Regions from separate parts of the Homo sapiens genome. Here regions 1 and 3 are each linked to region 2. Evidence: promoter capture Hi-C in human tissues and cell types (Jung and others, 2019). All regions are on one chromosome and are shown on one strand. Each heading gives the region's core, a stretch centred on a gene start or on the middle of the fragment in contact. The rest is flanking DNA. Distances are from core to core; before and after follow the strand shown. Region 1 overlaps GOLPH3L (golgi phosphoprotein 3 like). Region 2 holds the start of C1orf56 (chromosome 1 open reading frame 56). Region 3 has its middle 8.4 kb from the start of SELENBP1.

Evidence for each region. Contacts are between HindIII fragments. The study calls those that stand out against the background at their distance.
Region 1: a contact is called between a fragment that was not itself captured here and the fragment with the promoter of C1orf56 in region 2, in 1 of the 25 tissues and cell types used here (hippocampus).
Region 3: a contact is called between a fragment that was not itself captured here and the fragment with the promoter of C1orf56 in region 2, in 1 of the 25 tissues and cell types used here (hippocampus).

The regions. Positions count from the first base shown.
Region 1 is chr1:150,665,312-150,668,571 of GRCh38, forward strand. All of the region lies in intron 2 of GOLPH3L (golgi phosphoprotein 3 like), which reads right to left. Among named protein-coding and RNA genes, the nearest start is that of GOLPH3L, 30 kb to the right of the region's middle. The HindIII fragment of the contact is 6,824 bases long and covers 1-3,260 here.
Region 2 is chr1:151,046,320-151,049,660 of GRCh38, forward strand. C1orf56 (chromosome 1 open reading frame 56) reads left to right here and starts at 1,432. Exons shown (of 2, transcript NM_017860.5): 1 at 1,432-2,533. The coding sequence starts at 1,529. BNIPL (BCL2 interacting protein like) reads left to right here. Exons shown (of 10, transcript NM_138278.4): 10 at 332-1,401. The coding sequence ends at 368. RefSeq lists enhancers at 1,760-1,809, 2,090-2,329. The HindIII fragment of the contact is 7,874 bases long and covers 1-3,341 here.
Region 3 is chr1:151,379,586-151,382,718 of GRCh38, forward strand. No RefSeq gene overlaps it. Among named protein-coding and RNA genes, the nearest start is that of SELENBP1, 8.4 kb to the left of the region's middle. The HindIII fragment of the contact is 4,780 bases long and covers 1-3,133 here.

The DNA of each region.
Region 1 (3,260 bases), core at 228-2,727, 380 kb before region 2:
CATATTTTGGGGTTACTTTTTTTTTTTAAGAGACAGGCGGGGTCTTGCTCCATTATCCAGGCTGAAATGCAGTGGGGCCATCATAGCTCACTGTAGACTTGAACTCCAGGGCTCAAACAATTGTCCTGCCTCAGCCTCCCAAGTAGCTCAGACTACAGGCATGAGACACTGCACCTAGCTATAATAACTATTTAAAAAATTTTTTAATTCAATTTTCCTCTTTATTGGCTTGGAAGTTATGTACTTTTAGAAGTTATCCTTGAAATTTTAACATGCATGATACATTAATTTAAAATTAACATAAAACCTAAATTTTAAATATTAATATTTTAACCACTCTTTTAGTTGTCCAGTATTTTTTTTTAGCCTCATAAATTAGATATCATCATCATCATTATTATTTTATACAGGTAGCACTTGTTTAGATTTACACAGGTGCTTACGAATTTCTTTGCTCACCGTTCCTTCCTGTATCTCAGACTTCCTTTCTGGCACCATTTTTCTTCTTCCTAAAGTAGAATTTCCTTAAGTGAAAGTCTGTTGGAGGCAGTTTCTATTTTGCTTATCTGAAATGTCTTTGTATTTCACCATCATCCTTGAAAGATAGTTTCTCTGGACATAAAATTCCAGGTTGATCATTCCAGGTTATCACATTGAAGATAGTATGCCCTCTTCTTCCAGCTTCTAATATAGCAGTGAGAAATCTATCTTTCTTATTGATTGTGGTTTTTTTGTAGGTGGTGTATCTTTTCTTTGGTCCTTTAAGATCTTCTCTTTTGGTGTTTTGCAGTTTTACTATAACATGACTGTGCATGAATTTATTTATTCTGTTTGGTATATGTTGTGCTTCCCATAACTGTGGTTTCATTTCTTAGCTTCAAAAATTCTCAGCTCTTAGGTCTCTAAGCACTTTGGCTCTCCTTTATTTTCTTTTTTCTTTCCTTCTAGGACTTCAGTCTTTATTTTAACCCCGTCTTTTAACCTTTTATATTTTCCATTTGCTTGTTCTCTGTATTGCTTTCTGGAGAGTTTTTGTTTGTTTGTTTGTTTCTGAGATGGAGTCTCACCTGTCACCCAGGCTGGAGTGCAATGGCACAATCTCGGCTCACTGCAACCTCCGTCTCCCAGGTTCAAGCAATTCTCCTGCCTCAGCCTCCCAAGTAGCTGGGATTACAGGTGCACCTCACCACGCCTGGCTAATTTTTTTGTGGAGATGGGGTTTTATCATGTTGGCCAGGCTGGTCTTGAACTCCTGACCTCAGGTGATCTGCCTGCCTCAGCCTCCCAAAGTGCTGGAATTACAAGCATGAGCCACCAGCCTGGCCTTTGGAGAGTTTTTAAAAAATATCCGGCTTCCTATTTACTAATTCAAACTAACCCTGAGATTTTGATTTCAACAATTTTTCATTAGTAGAAGTTTTATTTAGTTATTTTTCACATTTGTCTGGTGATTTGTGATTTTTTGTTTATTTTGTGATTATTTTATTTCTTTAAAAATGTCATATTTTTAGTCTGATTATTTTAATATGGGACAATATATGAGGTCCTTGATACCTGACAATATCTGAGGACTTTATTTGTCACTTCTTCCTTGTTTGTATGTTTGATGATCTTTGATTAAGAGGTTCACGTTTAACGTTTTGTGAATTTACGAGATTCTGGAGGCCTAAATTGAGGACATCTTCCTTCAGAGGGAAAGATCTGTTTCTGCCGAGAGCCAAGTACAGAGGGATTGTGGGAGTGCCACACAACTGGGAGCACATTTAAGCCTAGTTTCCCCACTTTACCTCAACCATCAAGTTTATTCCTGACCAACCAACTCCTGAATCTCAAGACTGATTTGGTAATTTGCCCCAGGGTAATTTGATCTTCATGTTATCTTTATTGCTCACCTCTTGGATTTTAATTTTGGTGTTTGGGGGCCCCTTGAAGATTATTTCTACTTTCCAAGACTCAATAATACATTAAAAATTAAGCTTATTCAAGACTTAATATCTGACCACCATACTGCCAGGGCTAGAGGACCTCTAATTCTATTTGTCCTGCTATAGCCAGGACAATCTTTAACATCAAGTGTAATGATATAACTCCCTCCCCTCATGCTTAAAAATCTTTCAAACATTCCTCTCAGCCTTCAGGATGGAATCCAAATGGCTAATGCAGGAGGATCGCTTGAGGCCAAGAGTTGGCCAGCCTTTGGGAACACAGCGAGACCTTGTCTGTAAAAACAAAACAAAACAAAACAAAAGTGGCTATTTACTAGTCTTTTCTTTTTTTTTCTTTCTTTTTTTTTTTTTTTTGAGACGGAGTCTCTCTCTGTCACCCAGGCTGGAGTGCAGTGGCGCAATCTCGGCTGACTGTAAGCTCCACCTGCCGGGTTCACGCCATTCTCCTGCCTCAGCCTCCGAGTAGCTGGGACTACAGGCGCCCGCCACCACACCCAGCTAAATTTTTTTATATTTTTGGTAGAGATGGGGTTTCACCGTGTTAGCTAGGATGGTCTTGATCTCCTGACCTCGTGACCCGCCTGCCTCGGCCTCCCAAAGTGCTGGGATTACAGGAGTGAGCCACCACGCCCGGCCCACTAGTCTTTTCTTTGGCCTCTTTCCCCTATTGGCCTTTGCACACACTGCTCTGTTGAAAAGAACCAATATTCTTCCTTCCAAAACTCCTCTTTGTAGTTAAGCGTTAAGTACAGGGGTCACATTTCCACATAACCTTCTCTAACATTGTTTACTTCTCCACTCCACCCTCTGGATTAGGTTCTGCACCTGGGTGTGCCCATACATACTTCTCTCATAACTTCTATTATATCATATTGCAAACAACTATTTCTCCTGACCAGACTACAAATTCCTTAAGGAGAGAATATCCCTTATGCCGCAAAAATATTTTTGAAAGCATAAATTTATGCTTAAAAGTAAATGTTAACCTGGCAAAAGTTCAGCTTGAGCCATAAAATATTCCTTAGACATCTCCAAATTTCCTGAGGGTCTGATCTTTGACTCAAGGTTGGGATTAGTTCCCTCCCCTGCCTGCCTCATGGCTACTCCAAGTCATATTTGTTTTTTTGGTTTTGTTTTTGTTTGGACACAGGGTATCGCTCTGTCGCCCAGGCTGGGGTGCAGTGGCATGATCTCATCTCACTGCAACCTCCACCTCCCTGGTTCAAGCAATCCTCTCACCTCAGCCTCCCAAGTAGTTGGGACTACAGGCGCGTGCCACCACACCCAGCTAATATTTGTATTTTTAGTAGAGAT
Region 2 (3,341 bases), core at 182-2,681:
AGAAGAAATGAAGGACACTACTGCATCCAACAAGAATAAATGAAAAAAAAAAAAAACCTATACATATAAGTGCAGAGGCAATAAGGAATAAAGGAATAATCACAGTGCAGAGGAGATTCAGACTGGCCCTAGAAATTAGGAAGAGATGTGTTGGCAGTGAACAGATGATATCCAGTGGGGGAGAGGGTGTTAGGGAGCAAAAGTGCTAAATGATGACTCAACCCAATCATCTAGCTCTTCCAATTCACCTGGCTTCTCTCCCCAAACCAGAAAATAAAACCCAAGTCCTACCCCCTGAACCACTTCTCTCCTCCCCCTCTCCCTCTCCTAGGCTGGACCGGGATCTCCATGGCTCAGGAGGGACATAGCACAGGACTGGATAAAAGGCCTTAGAACCAGTTAGTGATCTGCCTACACCTGAATCCCTGAAACATCTGAACTGTTTTGTAAATCATCTTATCCCCAACCTCAGTACCACCGGATCTTCACTTCTCAGTGGGATTTTGTCCTTTGCATGACCCTACTTTCAGCAGGGCTTTGAGGCTGGGAAACTGATCTGCTGGGTGACTTTCATTCCAGTTGCTGGGACGGAAGGCTGAATGTAGGGTCATTTTGTATGGGATATGCAGAGCTCTGGGTTTTTTTGTTTTTTGTTTTTTGAGACGGAGTCTCGCTCTGTCGCCAGGCTGGAGTGCAGTGGTGCGATCTCGGCTCACTGCAACCTCCGCCTCCCGGTTCAAGCCATTCTTCTGCCTCAGCCTCAGCGAGTAGCTGAGACTACCGGCGCACGCCACCACGCCCAGCTAATTGTTTTGTATTTTTAGTAGAGACGGGGTTTCACCATGTTGGCCAGGATGGTCTCGATCTCTTGACCTCGTGATCTGCCCGCCTCGGCCTCCCAAAGTGCCGAGATTACAGGTGTGAGCCACCGCGCTCGGCCAGAGCTCTGGGTTTTAATCCTACTTTAGCTGTAGAACCTTGGGCAAATAACTTCATCTTTTTGGGTCCTAATTTTCCTCCTGTCTAACTGGAGGGACTGTGATCCTTCCACCTTGGATGGAAGAGGCTTACCTGACAGCCAGCCTGCCTGCTGGGAGCCAGGAGAGTCAGCTCATTAAATCTTGAAGAACCGCTGTATGCCCTTTTTCCTTCTAAGTCATGTCTGCTGCCTGTGAGCCTGGGAAGGAGTGCTTTCAAAACCTGTATTTTTGCCCTCTTTAGTAAATTTAGAACTGTAGAGGCTAATAAACTGCGATGAGACATTTAAGCTCTGCTCCAAAGAAGTGAACGACTCTTTCACCACCCCTTGCATCCCAAACCTTCGGTTCTGGCAGAGTTCTTGCCGCAGAGGTTCCTTAGGAGCACCCCGCGCGGCCCGCGCGAGCGCGCCTGCGCGTCGAACCCCACCCCCTTCCCCGCGGGCCTCGGTTCAAACGACCCGGTGGGTCTACAGCGGAAGGGAGGGAGCGAAGGTAGGAGGCAGGGCTTGCCTCACTGGCCACCCTCCCAACCCCAAGAGCCCAGCCCCATGGTCCCCGCCGCCGGCGCGCTGCTGTGGGTCCTGCTGCTGAATCTGGGTCCCCGGGCGGCGGGGGCCCAAGGCCTGACCCAGACTCCGACCGAAATGCAGCGGGTCAGTTTACGCTTTGGGGGCCCCATGACCCGCAGCTACCGGAGCACCGCCCGGACTGGTCTTCCCCGGAAGACAAGGATAATCCTAGAGGACGAGAATGATGCCATGGCCGACGCCGACCGCCTGGCTGGACCAGCGGCTGCCGAGCTCTTGGCCGCCACGGTGTCCACCGGCTTTAGCCGGTCGTCCGCCATTAACGAGGAGGATGGGTCTTCAGAAGAGGGGGTTGTGATTAATGCCGGAAAGGATAGCACCAGCAGAGAGCTTCCCAGTGCGACTCCCAATACAGCGGGGAGTTCCAGCACGAGGTTTATAGCCAATAGTCAGGAGCCTGAAATCAGGCTGACTTCAAGCCTGCCGCGCTCCCCCGGGAGGTCTACTGAGGACCTGCCAGGCTCGCAGGCCACCCTGAGCCAGTGGTCCACACCTGGGTCTACCCCGAGCCGGTGGCCGTCACCCTCACCCACAGCCATGCCATCTCCTGAGGATCTGCGGCTGGTGCTGATGCCCTGGGGCCCGTGGCACTGCCACTGCAAGTCGGGCACCATGAGCCGGAGCCGGTCTGGGAAGCTGCACGGCCTTTCCGGGCGCCTTCGAGTTGGGGCGCTGAGCCAGCTCCGCACGGAGCACAAGCCTTGCACCTATCAACAATGTCCCTGCAACCGACTTCGGGAAGAGTGCCCCCTGGACACAAGTCTCTGTACTGACACCAACTGTGCCTCTCAGAGCACCACCAGTACCAGGACCACCACTACCCCCTTCCCCACCATCCACCTCAGAAGCAGTCCCAGCCTGCCACCCGCCAGCCCCTGCCCAGCCCTGGCTTTTTGGAAACGGGTCAGGATTGGCCTGGAGGATATTTGGAATAGCCTCTCTTCAGTGTTCACAGAGATGCAACCAGTAAGTGTTTGGTGATGAGCCAGGGTCTTTGTTGACGGATCTGAAAAGTCCTGGTATCTAAAACCCAGTTGCTAAGCCAGCCAGTGTTGCTTACATGAACTGTTACTGACTTACCTGGTTATTGATTCATAACATGCATTGGTTATTCACATTGTTAGCCATTGATTCCACCTATTATTTATTGAGCAACTACTGGTTGGTCATTAGGTAAAATGTCTTACTGCTCATTAGGTGATTATTGACCAAATAGTTAAGATTGGAAATATTTTTTTTTTTCAAGACAAGAGTTTCACTCTTATTGCCGAGGCTGGAGTGCAATGGCGTGATCCTGGCTCACTGCAACCTCTGCCTCCCAGGTTCAAACAATTCTCCTGCCTCAGCCTCTTGAGTAGCTGGGATTACAGGCACCCACCACCATGCCCGGCTAATTTTTTTTTTTTTTTTAGAAGAGACAGCATTTTACCATGTTGGCCAGGCTGGTCTAGAACTCCTGACCTCAAGTGATCCACCCGCCTCGGCCTCCCAAAGTGCTGGGATTATAGGCATGAGCCACCATGCCTGGTCTTGGAAATTCTCTGTTTTTTTCACAGACAAGATCTCGCTATGTTGCCCAGGCTGGTCTTAAACTCCTGGGCTCAAGCAATTCTCCTGCCTCAGCCTTCCAAAGTGCTGGGATTACAGGCATGAGCTACTGTGCCCCTGACCATAAGACTTTTTTTTCGAGACAGGGTCTCTCATCACTCAGGCTGGAGTGTGGTGGCGCAGTCACAACTCACTGCACCCTCCATCTTCTGGGCTCAAGCAATCC
Region 3 (3,133 bases), core at 410-2,909, 330 kb after region 2:
GGTGGCTCACTCCTGTAATTCCAGGACTTGGGGAGGCCGAGGCGGGCGGATCACGAGGTCAGGAGATCGAGACCATCCTGGCTAACACAGCGAAACCCCATCTCTACTAAAAATACAAAAAAAAAAAAAAAAAAAAAAATTAGCCGGGCATGGTGGCAGGCGCCTGTAGTCCCAGCTACTTGGGAATCTGAGGCAGGAGAATGGCATGAACCCGGGAGGTGGAGGTTGCAGTGAGCTGAGATCGTGCCACTGCACTCCACCCTGGGCGACAGAGCAAGACTCCGCTTAAAAAAAAAAAAAAAAACCTAAAGAAAAGGATTTGTAGAGATAAAGCTTCCCTTATCATGCCAAATGTAGCTAACAGTGGTTACCTCAAGAATTGGATTACAGGGAGCAATTTTTATTTTTCACATTATGTATCAATCATATTTTTAAAATTTTATATTAAGTTTGAAATACATGTGTAAACAATTGAAACAGTGAAAGAATACAGTAACATTTTTGCCTATAAGATGGGCAAAAAATTTAAAGGTTAAAATCTTGTATTGGTGAGACTATGCGGCAAAGGGACCACTCATTTAGGACTAATGAGAGTGTCAATTGGTGCCTTACTAACAAAAACAATTTGTCAATACCTCACAAAAGTTAAACTGTGCATACTGTTTTACCTAGGAATTTCACTTCAAGGATGCAATCCCATGGAAATACCTGCACAAGTAGGCAAGAAACAGGTACAGGTTGAGGCGGTGGCTCACGCCTGTAATCCCAGCACTTTGGGAGGCTGAGGCAGGTGGATCCCCTGAGGTCAAGAGTTCGAGACCAGCCTGGCCAACATGGCAAAACCCTGTCTCTACTAAAAGTATAAGAATTAGCCTGGCGTGGTGGCACACACCTGCAATCCCAGCTACTTGGGAGGCTGAGGCAGGAGAATCACTTGAACCTGGGAGGTGGAGGTTGCAGCGAGCCAAAATTGCACCACTGCATTGCAGCCTGGGGCGACAGAGGGAGACTCTGTCTAAAAAAAAAAAAAAAAAAGAAAAAAGATATAGGTACAGGTTGAGCATCCTTAATCTGAAAATCTGAAATCCAAAATGCTCCAAAATCTGAAATGTTTTGAGCACCAGTGTGACACCACAGGTAGCAAATTGCGTGCCTGACCTCACGTGTTGGGTCACAGTCAAGACTTTGTTTCATGTACAAATTATTTAAAATATTGTATAAAGTTACCTTCAGGCTATGTGTATAAGGTGTTTATGAAACACAAATAAATTTGCGTTTAGACTTGGGTCCCATCCCCAAGATATTTTAATATATATATATGTATTCCAAAATCTGAAAAAAATCTGAAATCTGGAACACTTCTGGTCCCAAGCAGTTTGGATAAGGGATACCCAAACTGTAATAATAAAATAACAACAGCTATCATTTATTAAATACATGGTACTGTTCGAAGTACTTAGGGATAAAGAAAGAGAAATGAACCACATCCACCTCATATAAAAGCTTTCCATGTGCCAAGTACTTCTCTGAGCTATTTGCATGTTCTGCCTTTACTTATACAGGGTTTACAACATCCCTATGAAGTGGGTATTTTCATTATGTCCAATTTACAGATAAAGAAGTTACAGCATAGAAAGAGGAAGCAACTCATACAAAGTTACACAGCTAGTGAGTAGCAGAGCCCAGGATCTGAAGCCAGGCAGTAGCTTCAGGCTCTGGCCTGGGACCTCTATGCACATAAGTTCGCAGCCCCTTCAGACAGAATGCTTTTGTGTTTTGTTGCTTGGATGGCTGGCCAGCACATTCAGCCCTTTCTATATTGGGTGGGAGGCAAAAGGCCAGATACTCACCGTCCCAGGCCTTAGGCCTCCTTGCTGCTAGGAGCAAGCATGTGACTTGGTCTTGGACGCAGCCAGGTGTGCCCACCGGAGACTCCAACACAAGGAAGTAGGGAGTGGGTTCTGGTTGCTGCAGGGAAGGCTGGTGTGCGGGTGGGTCACCATGCTGCAGAACCTCCCAGGGTCCAGCGCAGCTGGTGGTGCCATGGCAGCACATAGAACTTGAGGGGTAGAGGCAGTGTCCTTTGATTGGGATCTAGGACAAGAAAGGGCTCTCTGGCTGCAACCACTTCTGCCACTGGGGCCTTATGATCGAGCAGATCCAGTGATGCTTGGTGAGTTGGGGTGATCCATGGGATGAGGCAGGCAAGAGGCAGAAGGAGAGTCCCCAGGGTGACCCCAAATGATTGAGCCCAGCCCACTTCAGCAAAGAACAGTTCTCTTGAAAAACAGCCTCTTCTGAGCTTCTGGGTCCCAAGAGAAACCAAACATGAGAGGATGGGACACCAGGTGGCCTTTGACTCAAGCCTCCTTATGAACTGGGGATTATCTGATCCACCTAGCTAGCCCAGGAACCAAGCCCAGGAGCTCATCATCCTTAAGTAGAACTGGGTTGAGCCCGAAAGGAACCCTGAGAGTGAAGCTGCCAACAGCAGAGAGAAGCTGCGGAGTCGCCTGGCTAGCCCTGTCTTGCCAATACCCTCTCCCCTCAGTCCACCCTAAGAGCTTTAGAAGTTATACATGAAGACTACAGAGAAGAAAAACATTCTAGGCTGGGTTACAGGTGGCTGGCTCTCCACTATACACCATCATCAGCCAGAAGTGGTCTATTATTAAGAGATTAACAACAAGAATTTTAGAACCAGACTGTGTGTGTGAATTCCACTTCCACCAGTTACTAGCTTTATGAATCTGGGCAAGTAATTTAACCTCTCTGTACCTCGGTTTCCTCATCTCTAAAAGAGAGAAAATAAAATATCTATTCCCCTCATAGGGTGTTTTGAAAATTGCATGATGATATACATAAAGCTCTTCGAAAAGCACCCAGAACCTAACATACGCTGTGTTGTTGTTGTTGCAGCAATACAGCCCTTCTGAGAAAGTTCTAGAGAGCTGTTGAACAACAGTGTGAAATACTTAACACTACTGAGCTATACGTTTAAAAATGGTTAAGATGGTAAATTTAATGTTTTGTGTTTTTTTGTTTTGTTTTTTGAGTTTCGCTCTTGTTGCCCAGGCTGGGGTGCAGTGGCGTGATCTTGGCTCACTGCAACTTCCGCCTCCCAGGTTCAAGC